Regions from separate parts of the Homo sapiens genome. Here region 1 is linked to region 2. Evidence: promoter capture Hi-C in 16 types of primary human blood cells and fetal thymus (Javierre and others, 2016). All regions are on one chromosome and are shown on one strand. The core of a region is centred on a gene start or on the middle of the fragment in contact, and the rest is flanking DNA. Distances in the headings are between cores, read along the strand shown.

Region 1 (7,822 bases), core at 3,448-5,947, 170 kb before region 2:
GTAGTTTCAGTTACCAACAGTCAACTATGGTCCAAAAATATTAAATGGGAAATTATAGAAATAAATGATGCATGTTTTAAATTGCATGTCATTCTGAGTAGTGTGATGCAATCTTGAATTGTCCTGTCTGGGAGGAGACTCATCCCTTGGTCCAGCATATCCACACTGTATACTACCCAATCCATTAGTCACTTGGTAGTTGACTGGGTTATCAGATCAAAAAGACATAGTATGTATAGGATTTGGTACTATCTGCAGTTTCACGCATCCACTGAGGGTCTAGGAATGTACTCCCTCCCCTCGTAAGGGGGGACTACTGTAACTTATCAATGGTCTACTAAATTGCTAAAGTCAATGCCTGTTCTTTGGCTTCATCTTCTACAACAGCTCTGTACATTGCCAATAAAAGTTTCATTTTTGAAACTCTTCAGTTTCTTATCTGTCTGTTCCTTTTAGCCATATTAATTGACCTCTCTTGATCTTCTAAGCCTATAAACAAGGACTTCCTTCAAGGTTCTGTTTCCAATATAATTTCCTTCTGAAATTCCAATCGTTCTCATACTTCCAACTGTGCCTGAAACCAAAATAATCTATCTAAGCTGCAGTTATCACCTTGACCCTAAAATCAATTCTCCTTGGCCTTCATTACTGGTACCACTATTCTGTAGGTCACCATTTTCTGGACAACACTTTTTCCTTAATCCCAACCATTAACTGCTGTCCAGAAATGTTCTATCCATTATTCAGGCCCATTTCAAATGCTACCCTCTCCATGAAGCCTTTTTCCAAATGAATGTACTTTCTATTTTGAAACCTCAGAACTAGATTTTTACTGCTCTTATTGTACTACTTTACACCAAAGTAAACTGTGTCATTTAGATCTCTGTCTAATCTCTGCTCTTAGATTTAAAATCCCTTAATGGCAGAAATTGATTTGGTCTTTGTAGCCCTTAGTACTTATCACATGCCTTGAATATGATAGCTGGTCAATAACTGCTAAATAACAAATGCTTTGGACGGTAGTAACCCGATTCTGTAGTCTTCCCCAGCCACACCACACGTCTCCCTCCTCTGTGCTATCTCATGGCTCTGTGCCCTTGTTCATGTGGTTTCCTCTGCCATACATGTCCGGCTCCCTCATTGCTGCTTCATGGACTTCAACTTACCCTTCATAATCTAACATGGACACCATCTCTCCTTTAGTGAAACTTCTCCCAACCCTTAGTAGAGGTAATCACTTCTTTTGTGCCTCTAGTGATTTGCAGATACAGCAGATCTTTTGTGCAGGAATTCAAATACTGAAAGAAAATAACTGGGTGTGGCGCTGGTGTGAACCACCAATGGCTGCTCAGTTATGTAATGGCAGCCCAGTCCCCAGGATGTGAACAGAACAGAGAAATAAAAACTTAACTGGTTATAGACTATTTCATGTCATAAGAATCTCACCGATTTCAGAATAAAAGTTATTAACCAACCAGAGCATAGGAGAAATCCCAGATGTGAAAGATGAATGATACACTTGAAATAGAAAAGCTAACCATACCAACCTTTTCTTCTTTAAAAAACTGATATGTAATAGCTGTACATACTTTTGGGGTACATGTGACATTTTGATACCTGCCTAAAATGTGTAATGATCAAATCAGGGTAACTGGGATATCCAACACCCTAAACACTTATCTTCTCTTTGCCAACACCAACTTTAGATGATGAAATCAAGATAGTACGGAGAGACCTTTCAAAAGTGCTGTTGCATCATCCACTTCAGGTTGTCAAGCTGCTGTTACCACAAATCCCAATATAGGGTGCTTAGGAACACTCCTATCTACAGGCCAATGAGAATTTCCAGTAAATACAAATTTCACAAACATACAGGCAGTACAATGTATACATATATCTTTTAACATAAGCTTTTTTAATGTCCCTTTTTCCTTAGCATAAGATATATATACACACTATATGTCATATCACATCTTAAGTATTTAAAAACCATACTTTAAGGTAAGGTATGTAAACTATTATAACTTTCATCTGTTTCAGATCAAATCCCAGATATGACAGGTAGGCTGTCTGTGCCTTCATTACAATTAGTTGTTCATACCTGTATTTCTTCCACTAGACAGTAGGTTTCTCAAGAGCAGCAATCACATCTTACTTTTTACCTGGCCTGATGTCTAGCACAAGGGAGATATTTCATACTCATGAAATGAACACTTGAATGACAGAGCTATTTTTTCATAAGTCTCAATTTGTAAATTATTTTAGAAATAAGTTCTCAAGAAGTCATGACTGGTTTTGTTGCTAGAAACCTTTATGATAAACTTTGTGTAAGCATCAAGTTACTTTAAAATTATGAGAAGTCACGTTATTAGTTTGAAAAGGATAGTAAGGAAAAAAAAGGAGCTAATAGCCAGAGTCTAGTCAATTACCAAGTGGAAAAAATGCCACTAAAGTCTCTCTCTGTTATTTTGGTGAGCAGATTAACTGCTTTCTAGTACTGGTGGTTGTGACGCTAGGTAAAAGGGGAAATGTAGGGCAGTTGCTATGCGTTGCCCAATGCAAGATCAATATTCTTTAAGTGGTATCCAGCCCTGTGATTTCAAAATGGATGTGTGCTTAATTCACTCCAACATGTGAATGTGTCTTATACCTTTCATCCAAGAGGCTGTAAGGCTAGAGGCATGCCAACCCTGTGTCTGTGCCTGTCTGTGAGGGGCACATGTGTGAATCAGGTCAGAGATGGCCACAGACACATAAGCTCACTGCTCTCCAACACAGGTTTCTTCTCTATCACAGAAGGGAAACTAACACACCTAGCTTCTCAACTACTTTAAGAGATTGGCGAAAGCATTTATTGTTCAGGCTTATTAGCTACAGATAATCAGGATCATCAATTTTGAGAGGAGGAAGACAACCCAGAGATCATTCAGTGTGGCGGCTCTCAAATGTTTTAGCCATGAACACCTTTTTCCATAAGAATGCATATTGAAGACCAATATGTACAACAAAGGTCAGAGAAGGAATCTTTACCAACCTTTCGGGAACCATGAAGGAGATTCATGAAATCTCTAATGTCCATCACAGTATAATGTTAAAAACCTCTGATCTCATACCCATTAGGATGGCTATTACTAAGAAAAAAAAACAAAAAAACAAAAAGAACACAACTATTGCCTCATGCATGACAGTCTTAACACCACCACAAGGCCAGTAGCTCCCTACATCTGCCTCTCAACTCCAGCCCTTCTCTTGGCCTCACCTTCTCCCCAACTTCACCTATTAACTAAGCCTAAAAATCAGCCGGGCGCGGTAGCTCACACTTGCAATCCCAGGACTTTGGGAGGCTAAGGCGGGCAGATCATGAGGTCGGGAGTTAGAGACCAGCCTGACCAACATGGTGAAACCCTGTCTCTACTAAAAATACAAAAATTAGCCAGGCATGGTGGTGCACGCCTGCAATGCCAGCTCCTCAGGAGGCTGAGGCAGAAGAATTGCTTGAACCTGGGAGGTGGACACTGCAGTGAGCCAAGATCACGCCTCTGCACTCTAGCCTGGGTGATAGAGAGAGACTCTGTCTCAAAACAAAACAAAACAATCATTTCCAGTTAGTAAGCCTACTCCCCAAGATCCTCTCAGCCCTAAGCTAGATGTCCCCCATATGCCCTGTAACATCCCTGCATCTGTGTACCACAGCACCTACCAAACTGTGTTATAGTAATCTGAACTCCTCTACTGTAGGCTCCTGACCAAATGTCATTCATCTTTGTACACTGAGAACCTAGACCCTGCCTGGCTGTGGCTGGCCCTCAGGGAATGTTGACTGAATAAAGACATTTGTTGGTAAAGTCAAGATGAGACCTGGTGGCTCTTTCCACTGCTGTAGCTGATGGCCTCTCCTGATAACGTAACCTCTTATTTAGAAAATAACTACAGAGAAACAAGTACAATTCATTCTCCTGAGTAATTCAGTAACACCCAAGTTACCGCCAACTTTCTGGGATGGAGAAGGCAGTGGAGAAATGAACTGCAAAAAAAGAAAGGCCTTCTTCTTCTCCTTTCATAGACATCTGTTATTTTTACAACAAATGAGGAGGACTCTTCCTGGCAGTTTGAGTGACCACAATTTAAATCAATCCATTGAGAACTCATGTTTTATATTACAGTGACCTACATGCTGGTAAGACCTTGAGGACAAGCAGTCTGCAATGGAAAAAAAAATATTTGAAGGCTATGTCCTCAGCTCCATGACTTTTCTAGGCCTGGTGGAAGGCAGGCTCAGCCAGAGAGGAAATATTTTTAGACACGGCTGCTTCAGAGTTGTAAAAATAGGCTAAGTGACTAGCACATTTGTCAAAGCCCCAGAGCACTCTGACCACAGGACCAAGTAAACATGCCAAGCAGAAGCACACTGGATTTATTTATCTTTGTAAATGTATCAAGAAGATTTGAAGCAGCTTTCTCCGAAGCACAACTTGAGTGGTGAGTCTATGAGACCTACATCAACTGGTCTGGTGACTGGTCTCCCTCCCATCTCCTCCCTCAACAGTTCCACTGGATGTCCCATGTGCCTAGACATTACAAGGAGGGCCACCGTTTTCATCCTCTCTCTGGAAAATCCCAAAGTTATGCAAACTATCTACCACACATGATTTCTGACTTTCTTCAGATCCCCAGAATAAGTAGACTGAGTCAGAGCTCCCTGAGGCCAACTGTGCTTCAGAGGCTGCAGCGCCTTAACAGCAAGGCCTGCCTTTTACGGTTGTCATGGTTTGATCCAGAGAGGAAAAAAGTCATACATCAGTTGCATCTCTCAGGGCTGGCATTTCTGGGTTTATGATTGTCTCTGGTTGTGTAATGTCTTGAACTCTGCCATCAGCACAAGTTGTCTTCCCTGACTTCAACAATTAGCAAAAGCTGTTCTGTTGAGGATGTCAACCACCACCACCACAACCAGCTGGTTTGTTCTTTTTTTTTTTTTTTTTGAGAAGGAGTCTTGCTCTGTTGGCCAGGCTGCAGTGTAGTGGTGTGATCTTGGCTCACTGCATCCTCCGCCTCCTGGGTTCAAGCAATTCTTCCACCTCAGTCTCCTGAATAGCTGGGACTGCAGGCATGTGTCACCATGCTCAGCTAATTTTTGTATTTTTAGTAGAGACAGGGTTTAACTTTGTTGGCCAGGCTAGTCTCGAACTCCTGACTTCAAGTGATCTGCTCGCCTCAGCCTCCCAAAGTGATGGGATTACAGGCGTAAGCCACCATGCCTGGACTGGTTTTTTTCTTCAAACAGTTAAATTAATTGGACAGACTCCTTTATTAGACTTCGAATTTTACATTTCAAAAAGTATTTCTAAAAGGCAAAGAAAGTGTGCGCCCATTTTTAGACTAGAATTGTGTTACATAGTTTTTTTTTAATTCAGTAAGTGTGTAGGTTTCATAATAACCCAGATAACCTCTCCCAGACTTCTCACCTCCCACAAATTCTGAAAAGGTAAAGGGATAACCAGACATGTCAACAGCATCGTTATATTTAAGAATCCCTGGAAGATGTTGCTATGATGGACACTTTCCGGGTAGAGGAGAGTTATAAATCCAAATGCCTCTCCAGGAAGACTAATATGACAATGTTTGCCATGATGAGTGGGTTTTTTCTTTTAGTTTTTGCTGAAAGGACCAATTAAGAGGCTCCCATGACAATTCAGGTTAACACACCTGGTCTAGGAACTGCAAAGGAGAGGGCAGAGGAAAGAGCTCTCCCATGACCAAAAAGTTACAGAGCCTTTTCTGGTATGGAGACACTGATTGTGATCCCATCTTCAGAGTACATGTGGCTGGAAGAACAACTGCAGCAACAGGAGGGGCAAGCTCTCTGGAAAAAGCTGGAGGGGAAATAATGAATTAGATCTTGGCAGGTGAGTTTGAGTCTACCATGGGCAGAAGGATGGCAGCACAGCACCCTGATGTAGACGACCAGCAGGTAGACTAACTTTGAGTCCAGAGCCAAGGAGACGTCAACCTGGGATGTACTGATTCCAGAGAGCCACAGAGGATCCCCTGCCATGGATGCCACACTTCTCCCCACAATACAGCACTTGCCAGAGGTGCAGGCAGAACTGAATTCAGGCTTGGGGATTTACAGGCAGCAGAACAGAAGAGAACTCAAGTTCTAACCCCAGCTCTGCCTCTGACCATTGACCCCAGGAACCATCTCTGCAGGGGTGATTATTGTAATGGTCACATGAAATTAAATAAATCAAAATTCTTTGAACAGAATAAAGTGTCATATTTTGTAGAGTGGTTTTAGCTCTACAAAAACCAGTAAATGGTACACTATCTTTCTCAACAACCCACATAAATAAGTCTTAACATCTTTAGAATTGCTGGAACTCCCTATATCAAAACTCTTCCGACAGTGAAGACAATCTAAGAGAAATCCTCACTAGATCAGGTCTGATGGGTCTATGTGAAAGCAGCTAATATTTATCAGACAGTTACTATCAAACACACTAATGCTATTCTAGGAGCTTGTATATTAGTTCATTTAACTTTCACAGCTGTCAGGTGAGTCTCATTATTCCCAGGTAAGTAAAGAGGCAGAGAGGAGTTAAGTGATTTGCCCAAGGTTCCTAAAGGCAGGATAGGAAGGCTAGCATCTAAACCCTGGCAGGGACCTCATAGCCTGTACTTTTGAGATTAGAATACCACTACCAGAAATAATAACATCATGAATATAACAGGGGGAGCCACAGAGAACATCCACATTATCTTCCTGTGGTCCCAGGAGAACTAGAGAGTGAGGTGTGTGTGCCTACCACAGATAAGAGAGAAGGGAGAGGGGAAGAAAGAAGAAACTCAAGCAAGGGGCAAGTGATTAAAGCTGGAGGCAGAACATGGCAGGAAAATGCCAAAACCTGACTGACTGAAGTGCCATTTCTGCTCTAAAAAATGTCCAAACATATCCCATAGCATTATTTTCTGTTGCCTGTGAGCCCTACCTCTTCTACCCTCTAGGAATGACAGTATCTCCAACCTCACCCAGAGTCCAATAACTAATATGCTAATAGAGGGTGGTTCTACATCCCAGTACCTCAACCAAGAGCAGAGAACAGCCCAACAAAGATAAGCAACAACTCGGGAAGTAGGGGGAAAACTTCATAACAAACAGACACATCTCATGTCCTTCAGCAGGAAGGTAACAACTGGGAGTACAAATATTCCCTCCATAAGGAACAGTCAAAAGGAGAGCTTACAGCCAGGTAACTGCTGGTCTCCTGTGATCCTGAAACTTCTCCTAGGCATCTGTACTGCTTTGCAAGCAAAGCAGTACTGTACTGTACAGCTCAACAGAGCTGTACTCACAGTAGAAGAGAATAAAGCTAAAAAAATATGAAACAACTCTGATCATTCTCTTTTTCAGCATCAGAAAATGCAGATTTGGGGGCAAGAAGAAGAGATGAGAGAACAAATCCAGTGGCTGGGGAGAAGCTTTCAGGTCTACCTGAATCCTTATCAAGCATGGTAGAGTCACACAAAATCCCTGCAACGTAGCAGGCTCTCCCTGCCCTTACTTTGTTTTTAATAGCCAAAGAAGCTCTCTCTAGAAAAAATATGCACTTTCTGCTTTTTAAAAAGGAGGAAAAAAAAAAAGCAAGCTTTGGGAGAGAAGAACCTATCCCCAACCCCCTTTAAGATGCAAACTTTCTCACTTCCTCAAAGAAGAGTAGTGCACTAAAAAGAAGGTTGCACCCGGAGAGCATGTAAAGTGTCTCAAGGGGGACATCTGAAGTGCCCCGTTCCCAGGGAGCCCACTGGCTCCTCACAAGTAATC
Region 2 (7,413 bases), core at 4,229-6,728:
GCAATCCCATTACTAGATATAGACCCAAAAGAATAAAAATCATTCTACCATAAAGATACATGCACATGTATGTTCATCGCAGCTCTATTCACAATAGCAAACACATGGACTCAACCTAGATGCCCACCAACAGTGGACTGGATAAAGAAAACGTGGTACATACATACCATGGAATACTATGCAGTCATAAAAATGAATGAAATCATGTCCTTTGTGGCAACATGGATGTAGCTGGAGGCCATTATCCTAAGTGAATTAACACAGGAACAGAAAACCAAATACTGCATGTTCTCACTTATAAGTGGGAGCTAAACACTGAGCAGACATGGACCCTAAGAAGGGAACCACAGACACAGGGGCCTACTTGAGGGCAGAGGGTGGGAGGAGGGTGAAGACTGAAAAACTACCTATCAGGTACTATGCTATCTGAGTGACAAAATAATATGTACATCAAACCCCTGTGACACATAATTTACCCATGTAACAAACCTGCACACCCAAAATAAAAGCTGGAAGGAAAAATAAAGGAATTGCATGGCTGACAAGGGTGGCTCATGCCTGTTATTCACCACGTTGGAAGGCTGAGGTGGGAGGATCGCTTGAGTCCAGGCATTCAAGACCAGCCTGGGCAACATAGCAAGACTCTGTCTCAATTTAAAAAAATAAAAGAATAATAATATAAATAGTAAATGGGGTATAGTGAAAGGAAAGACTGTACATATAAAAGAAATAATTCAGTTAGTTGCACAAGTTTAGTTTGAAAGCTTTAAGCGAGATATCAATTTAAATAAACACAAACACAAAATTATAAGGCTGAATTTCAAATTGTATAGGGGTTTGTCAATAGAGGGGAAACCAATTATAAAATAACTCATTATCTGATTTGACTTTAATTCTATTAGCTATTTCTTTAAACTTTGCTTTGAATTACAAGTCATTGTTAGAAATTAATAAAGTGAACTGATCTGGGTATCTGTATGAAGTGGCTGAAATGAACACTACTCATATTCTAACATCCTTTATCAAAACCTTAAAGATAAATTAACACTGGAAATCAAAATAGAAAAGTGAATGAAAAACTAAAATTTTGACTCAGAGTAGCAAAGATGTGATATTATTGTAAAACTTGAGAATGTTTCAAGAAATGCTTTATATTTATAATAAAAATAAACTAATAGAAATTTCTCGCACTTTCATTAAATCAGCCCCAAAATGTCAAACAACAAATGTGTAATGTTTTAAAAAACAGGTGACCTATTTAAAATGGATGGAACTTATTCTAAAGGTAGTGATAAGTCTGCTAAATGCAACACCTGAAAGTATTTAATTCATCTGTCTCACTGGGTTCTAATGCTTCATCAAAGTGTAGAAGTAGAATGTCCTTCAGAGAGCTCCTTGGCAAAATTAGCACCTCTCCATTCTGCTATACTTCCCCAAAAAAGACATTTAGCTTCATGGCTAATAAAAATAACACACACAAACAGTACTTTAAGAAAGTTTGTATGTTCCCGTTTCAACAGATAAATTCCTTGCATAATGAGCTACTGCTCCACTGTGCGACTCCATAGAGAAGGTTGATCCTATTGCTGAAATCTTATGAGATATGCTAAAGGAACGCAGAAATTAAGACTCTGAAATTTTAAATTAAAGAGACAGGGAAAAGTTCTCTAATTCTGAATACAGTTTAGAAAAAAGGGCAGCTAAATTAAACATTATGTTTCACTTTTTAAAATGCAAAATAACTGAAATAATCAAGAATGTGTACACAGACATAGCTAGAAAGATTTAATGCAGAGCTGCTTAAAATAGTGAACACTGGCAACAAACTAAGTGTTCAGCGATAGGGGACTGGTTGAGACACAGCCACAAAACAGAAAACTAAAAATGATGCTGTGTAAGAGTATGTTAGTGACATACAGTTGTCCATGTTTGGATGAGGAGAGAAAACGTAAGTTGGAACATAGAGAATGAACCCATTTTTGTAGAGATAAATTTCAGCTGCTGCAACTTCAGGAAAGTTACTTAATTTCCCTAAAACAGTTGTATCCTCAGTAAAAGAAGGTAATAAGAGTACCTACCTCACCGGGTTGGAGTGGGGATTACAAGAGATTTGATGTATAAAGCAACTGTCACGTTGCCTGGCCCATAGTAAGATCAATACTCGTTAGCTGTTTGTGTTATCTGTGCATAGGGGCAAAATATAAAGAGGGGGCAGATAGAAATGTTAAATGATTTTCTGGGTGGTGAGATTATGGCTGATTTGTTTTGCCTATACTTATAAATTTCCATAAGTAACACATTACTTATAATATGGGGAAAACTAATAAGTTGGAATACTCATACAAGGATAATCCTCTTAAAAATCTACCATAGTGTTTTGTTCACAGCAAATAAATCTTTTTTTGTTTTGTTTTGTTTTGTTTTGAGACAGAGTCTAGCTCTGTCACCCAGGCTGGAGTGCAGTGACGCAATCTCAGCTCACTGCAACCTCCACCTCCCAGGTTCAAGCGATTCTCCTGCGTCAGCCTCCCGAGTATCTGGGACTACAGGCGAGCACCAACATGCCCGGCTAATTTTTCTATTTTTAGTAGAGATGGAGTTTTACCATATTGGCCAGGCTGCTCTTGAACTTCTGACGTCAAGTGATCTGCCTGCCTCGGCCTCCCAAAGTGCTGGAATTACAGGTGTGAGCCACTGCACCCAGCCACACAGCAAATATATCTCAGTTGAGCTGAGCTGACCCTTCAGATTTCATTTAAACAAGCTTGCTTTGAATATTTAAAATTATTTAAACTGAAGAGCTATCACTTGTCCGTAATATTTTACTGTGTAAAGCAAGGCATACTTTTATTATTCGGCCTCATAAAGAATTTACGAGCCCCTATTCAAGACCATTCAGAATGCCACCAGATCTCTTATTATCAGTGGGAGGCAGCCTATGACGGCCTAATCACTTCTTGTCTCTTCCCAAGTCCCCAGCACTCTCCTTTTTTGACTCCTTTTTTCCCCTCTTGATAATCACAGCCTGAGGTCTCTACTGGACTATAAGCTTTGGGGTAGCAACTATCTCCTTCGTTTGCATTGCTGGCCCCTAGCACAGTGGCTGTTATGTAGTTGTTGCATACTAAACGTTAAGCAAATAAATATCTGATACTAGTAGTTCAAGACAAAGCCTTCAATTTCTCCATTGAGACAACACGCTAAAGGTGGGTAAGTCATTGTTTAGTCTAAAACTGTCCAAAACTCTCAGTAATTATTCCTTTAAAAAAGAAACATCTCACCTCAAAGCATCACTTTTAAAAAAAGTTCTCACTGATACTCCATTGTCTATTTTAATAGTTCTAAGATTATTTCTATTTTTCCCCTATATTTTGTTTAAAGTCCCACAAAAATCCCAAAGAGTTTAAGTAAACTTGCTCAAAGGAACACAGCTCAGAGAGCCTCAGGTCTCCTGGATTCCCATGTCCATGATCTCACTACACGGTACTGTCGTAGGACAGCTCCCAGATCTTTCACCCTGTAAGTTGTTATAGTTATGGTAAGAGCAAATGTCTTCAATAACGTGCACAAGTGCTAAAGTTTCTTCCAAACATTTCCTAGGGCTTTTATGAGATTCTGCGAGGGGAGAAACTCAGAACAAGGTGCAGCCACCTCAAGGTGTCCAAGTGTTTCCCTCTAGGTTCACAAGTCAACTAGCTTTACTTAAAAATGAAACCAAAGGAACCAAATTAAACATTAACTTGTTAAAAAAAAAAACACTTCAACCAGACTATTGTGAAGTAAGAACATTAGAAGACCAAGGAAAGGGCCATAAAGAGGAAATTTTGCACTGCTTGCACTGCTTCTTTAGGAAAAAAAAAAGGTAAAGGTAAAGTTAGCTTCCTCACGTCCTTTCTTCCTGTAAATTCCAGGTTGTCACTTTCAGCCATTGCTCTGACATTGTTTAAACAGTAAATGGCAGTTCCCATGACACAGGATGGAAACCATAACCTTCTCAGGTATCCGTACTAAAAATGTTTAACTTGCTGAAAACATCACTTCCCAATCTAAGGAACTTGCCAAAGGATTTCACATGCTAACCCTCGGCCCACCAGGCTTATAAGGAGGACATTCTGTGGAAATTAATTGGTTATTACCTAAGCCAGCTGCAACACACTATTATTTATATATAAACAGCTATAATTTGTTGGGGTCTGCTTTGTACCAGACATTATGAGAAGTCTTTTGCGCTTTAATCCTCATTATTATCCTCATTATTAATCCTTATTTAATCCACCTTATTATCTGAAGTAGCTATAATCCCATTTTACTGGTTCAGAATGTTTAATGTGCCTGAGCACCCACCGTTAATAGAGGAGACTGGTAATGAAACCAAGGATTTGAAAAGTTAGGTACAGATTGAAAACCCACGCCGAATCCAGTGACACTAAACAGTTGAATCTCTTCAAAATATAACACACATGTCAAAATGATTTTAAGGTCATTTCAGAGCAGGCAAGACTTGAAATAGAGGACCGGCAACATTAATAAATAAAAAAGACTACAGGACATAACATTTTGAGTTGGTTTCAAGCCGTGGATAATTAATGATTATCCATACCTCTGGATGGATGTTGACAGGGGTTCCCCGCCCCTTATTTTCGCTGAGAAACCAAGTCTTCCCTTCCGTAAAGGGAGCAGCTCTGGAATGCCACACGTTGAAGGGTTTCGGTGTGGGCTGCCCAGAGCTGGGCTGTTACTGTTCACACATCATCAGTAAGTGCCTCTCAAAAAAAAAAAAAAAAAAAAAGAGAAAGAAAAGAAAAACCACACACACAAACACACACACACAGTCCCTCCTCCACCAACTGAACTTCAGCCCTGACCTCCGGAGTGGTTCTGGACAATCTGGGGTTTAACCTGTGCCCTTCCAACGCCAGGACCGGGGTACCCGAAATGGGTTGCAAATGAATGAGATGACTGCTCAGAGGAAGGAGACTAAGGCACACATCTCTCCTCCAGACCACAAAATCGAGGAAGCATGCCCTGGGCGGGGAGGGTGGGGGCCGGATTAGAGCCACGTCCCCGCTTCGCAATCCACCTTTCCCCTCCCGCGCTTCGGAGGACTCTCCGCTCCCCAGCCCATCCTCCTCCTGGCCCCTCCGCGCGCTCCTTACCCGCTGGTGGCCAGGGCTCCAGACACTCCCAGCTGAAGGCACTTGCTCCCGGGAAGGGGATTTGCCAGGGGATGGAGCCCGCTGCCGCAGCCGCCGCGACCAGCCCCGGGCGTCACCACCCTCGGGCCGAAGCCGCTAGAAAGTTTGCTCGGGGTCTCGCCCTCCCACGCCGCGGCCTGACTAGGGGAAGCAGCTCTCCGGGTCCCTCCCGCGGCCGCCGCCCCCGAGGCCGCACTCGGCGGCGCTGCAGCACCGGCCAGGCTCCGTGCGCGCCGAGGGCTGGGTCTCCCCGCCCCACTCGGCCCACGGCGCGGCGCTCAGTGTTGACCGCGGCCCCGCGCCCGCTCTCCCCGCCCGCCGCGCGCGGCCCGCTCCCTGCGCCCTGCGCCCAGCGCGCTCTTGACATCATTCATTCTCTCACACCCTCGCCCGCCCACTCCATTTCCAAACAGTGACTCACCCGTCGGCCCGGTGGCAGCAGTGCCCGTTCCTGCTGCCGTGGCTCTCCTGGCGCAGAGTGGAGCTCGAAAAACCTGCGCGACTTCTTAAGAAGAAAATCCCAGCCGACTCTCCCCTCGCGGCTGTTTAAGGTGCAGAGAAGGAGGGGCTTGGCAGGCAGGGCAGTTTGGCTCCCGGCCGAAAGGCTGAGGGCCTGGAGCTGACCTCCCTGAGCGGCAACAGAGATCAATCTGGGAAAGTTCTTTGGGTGCCACTCCCAGCAACTTTCAGGGGTGGGGCTGGAACGGGATCCCCCACCCCCGCACCCGGCCTGTTTCGGAAACTGCTTCCTGACGGCGTGTGAGTGGGCTTGGGAGCGCCAGCGTTGATTCAGAGGGTTTATCGGTGTTGACCGGGCCTAGGTCAAAGAGGTGGGTTTCCAAACCTCACAGCGTTGCCTGGCAAGGTTAGTCATCAGTCCGCATGGTATGAGCTGGAAGGTTGCTCCAAGCTAATGAGGTGGCAGCACTGTCCCTTTCGTGCCTAACCATCGTGTCATTTGTCCTGTTAATTGATTTACTTCTCACTTAAGGAATCGTAACCAAAATAAACAGTGTAAGTAGTTATTTGCTTAACTGAATACTGCGCTTTTCCGCAGCTTTTGGGGCCCAAGGCAGCCGTGTGGTTTCTTCGAAGGCCTCAGTAGTTTTTTAAAAGGGGGATTGCTGTCTTTAAAATGGTAATGGTTCTACATTGTCCTGGAGTTGCTATTCATACACCTGCTGGGCAGTTTTCAAAGTAAACGATGGCAGCCTCAAGGACTCTAACTAGGAATGACCAATCCGAGGGAATGTGGCTAAATCTTTCTTGACATAAGTTTTACATTAATGTCTCCTTCTGGACAAGATAATTATGTTTAGGATTTGCGCTGGTTTATGGGTGCTTCCATATAATCAACAAAAATAATGACGGGAATCTTTGGGTTTCTAGTGCAGATATCATGTGGGTCAACAGTCATTTGTGGCTATTAAAGATGATGGTAACAGAAAAGAATATACAAGGCAGGCAATCCCCAAACTCGCAACTTCAAGATGTCGTCACAGTACAGGCAACCAAAGAAAATGGACAAATGGGATCATATTAAGCTAAAAAGCTTCTGCACAGCAAAGGAAACAAACTGAAGAGACAACCCACAGAATGGGAACTATCCATCTGACAAGGGATTAATAACCAGAATATATGAGGAGCTCCAACAACTCTATAGGAAAAAAAAATCTAATAGTCCGAGTAATAAATGGGCAAAAGATTTGAATAGACATTTCTCAAAAGAAGACATACAAATAGCAAACAGGTATATGAAAAGGTGCTCAGGCAATAAATACTGGCGAGGTTGTGGAAAAAAAAAGGAACCCTTGTGTTTGTGGGAATGTAAAAAGTATAACCACTATGGAGAACAGTATGGAAGTTCCTCATAAAACTAAAAATAGAGATACCGTATGACCTAGCAATCTCACTGCTAGGTATATATGCCCAAAAAAGGAAATCAGTGTATCAAAGAGATACCTGCACTCCTATGTTTATTGCAGCACTACTCACAATAGCCAAGGTTTGGAAGCAACCTAAGTGTCCATCAACAGATGAATGGATAAATCGTTACATATACCCATGGAGTACTATTCAGCCATAACAAAGAATGAGATCCTGGCATTTGCAACAACATAGATGGAACTAGAGGTCATTATGTTAAGTGAAATAAGCCAGGCACAGAAAGACAAATTTCACATGTTCTCACTTATTCATGGGAGCTAACATTTAAAAC

What was found. The method cuts DNA at HindIII sites, captures the fragments that hold promoters and counts their contacts. A CHiCAGO score of 5 or more calls a contact.
Region 1: a contact is called between a fragment that was not itself captured here and the fragment with the promoter of SGMS2 in region 2, in 1 of 17 cell types (M0 macrophages). The highest score is 5.9, in M0 macrophages.

The regions. Positions count from the first base shown.
Region 1 is chr4:107,994,054-108,001,875 of GRCh38, reverse strand. The region is part of intron 1 of HADH (hydroxyacyl-CoA dehydrogenase); the gene reads right to left. Among named protein-coding and RNA genes, the nearest start is that of HADH, 8.1 kb to the right of the region's middle. The HindIII fragment of the contact is 5,569 bases long and covers 1,913-7,481 here.
Region 2 is chr4:107,822,997-107,830,409 of GRCh38, reverse strand. SGMS2 (sphingomyelin synthase 2) reads right to left here and starts at 5,478. Exons shown (of 7, transcript NM_001375905.1): 1 at 5,157-5,478. RefSeq lists an enhancer at 2,061-3,260. The HindIII fragment of the contact is 3,698 bases long and covers 3,052-6,749 here.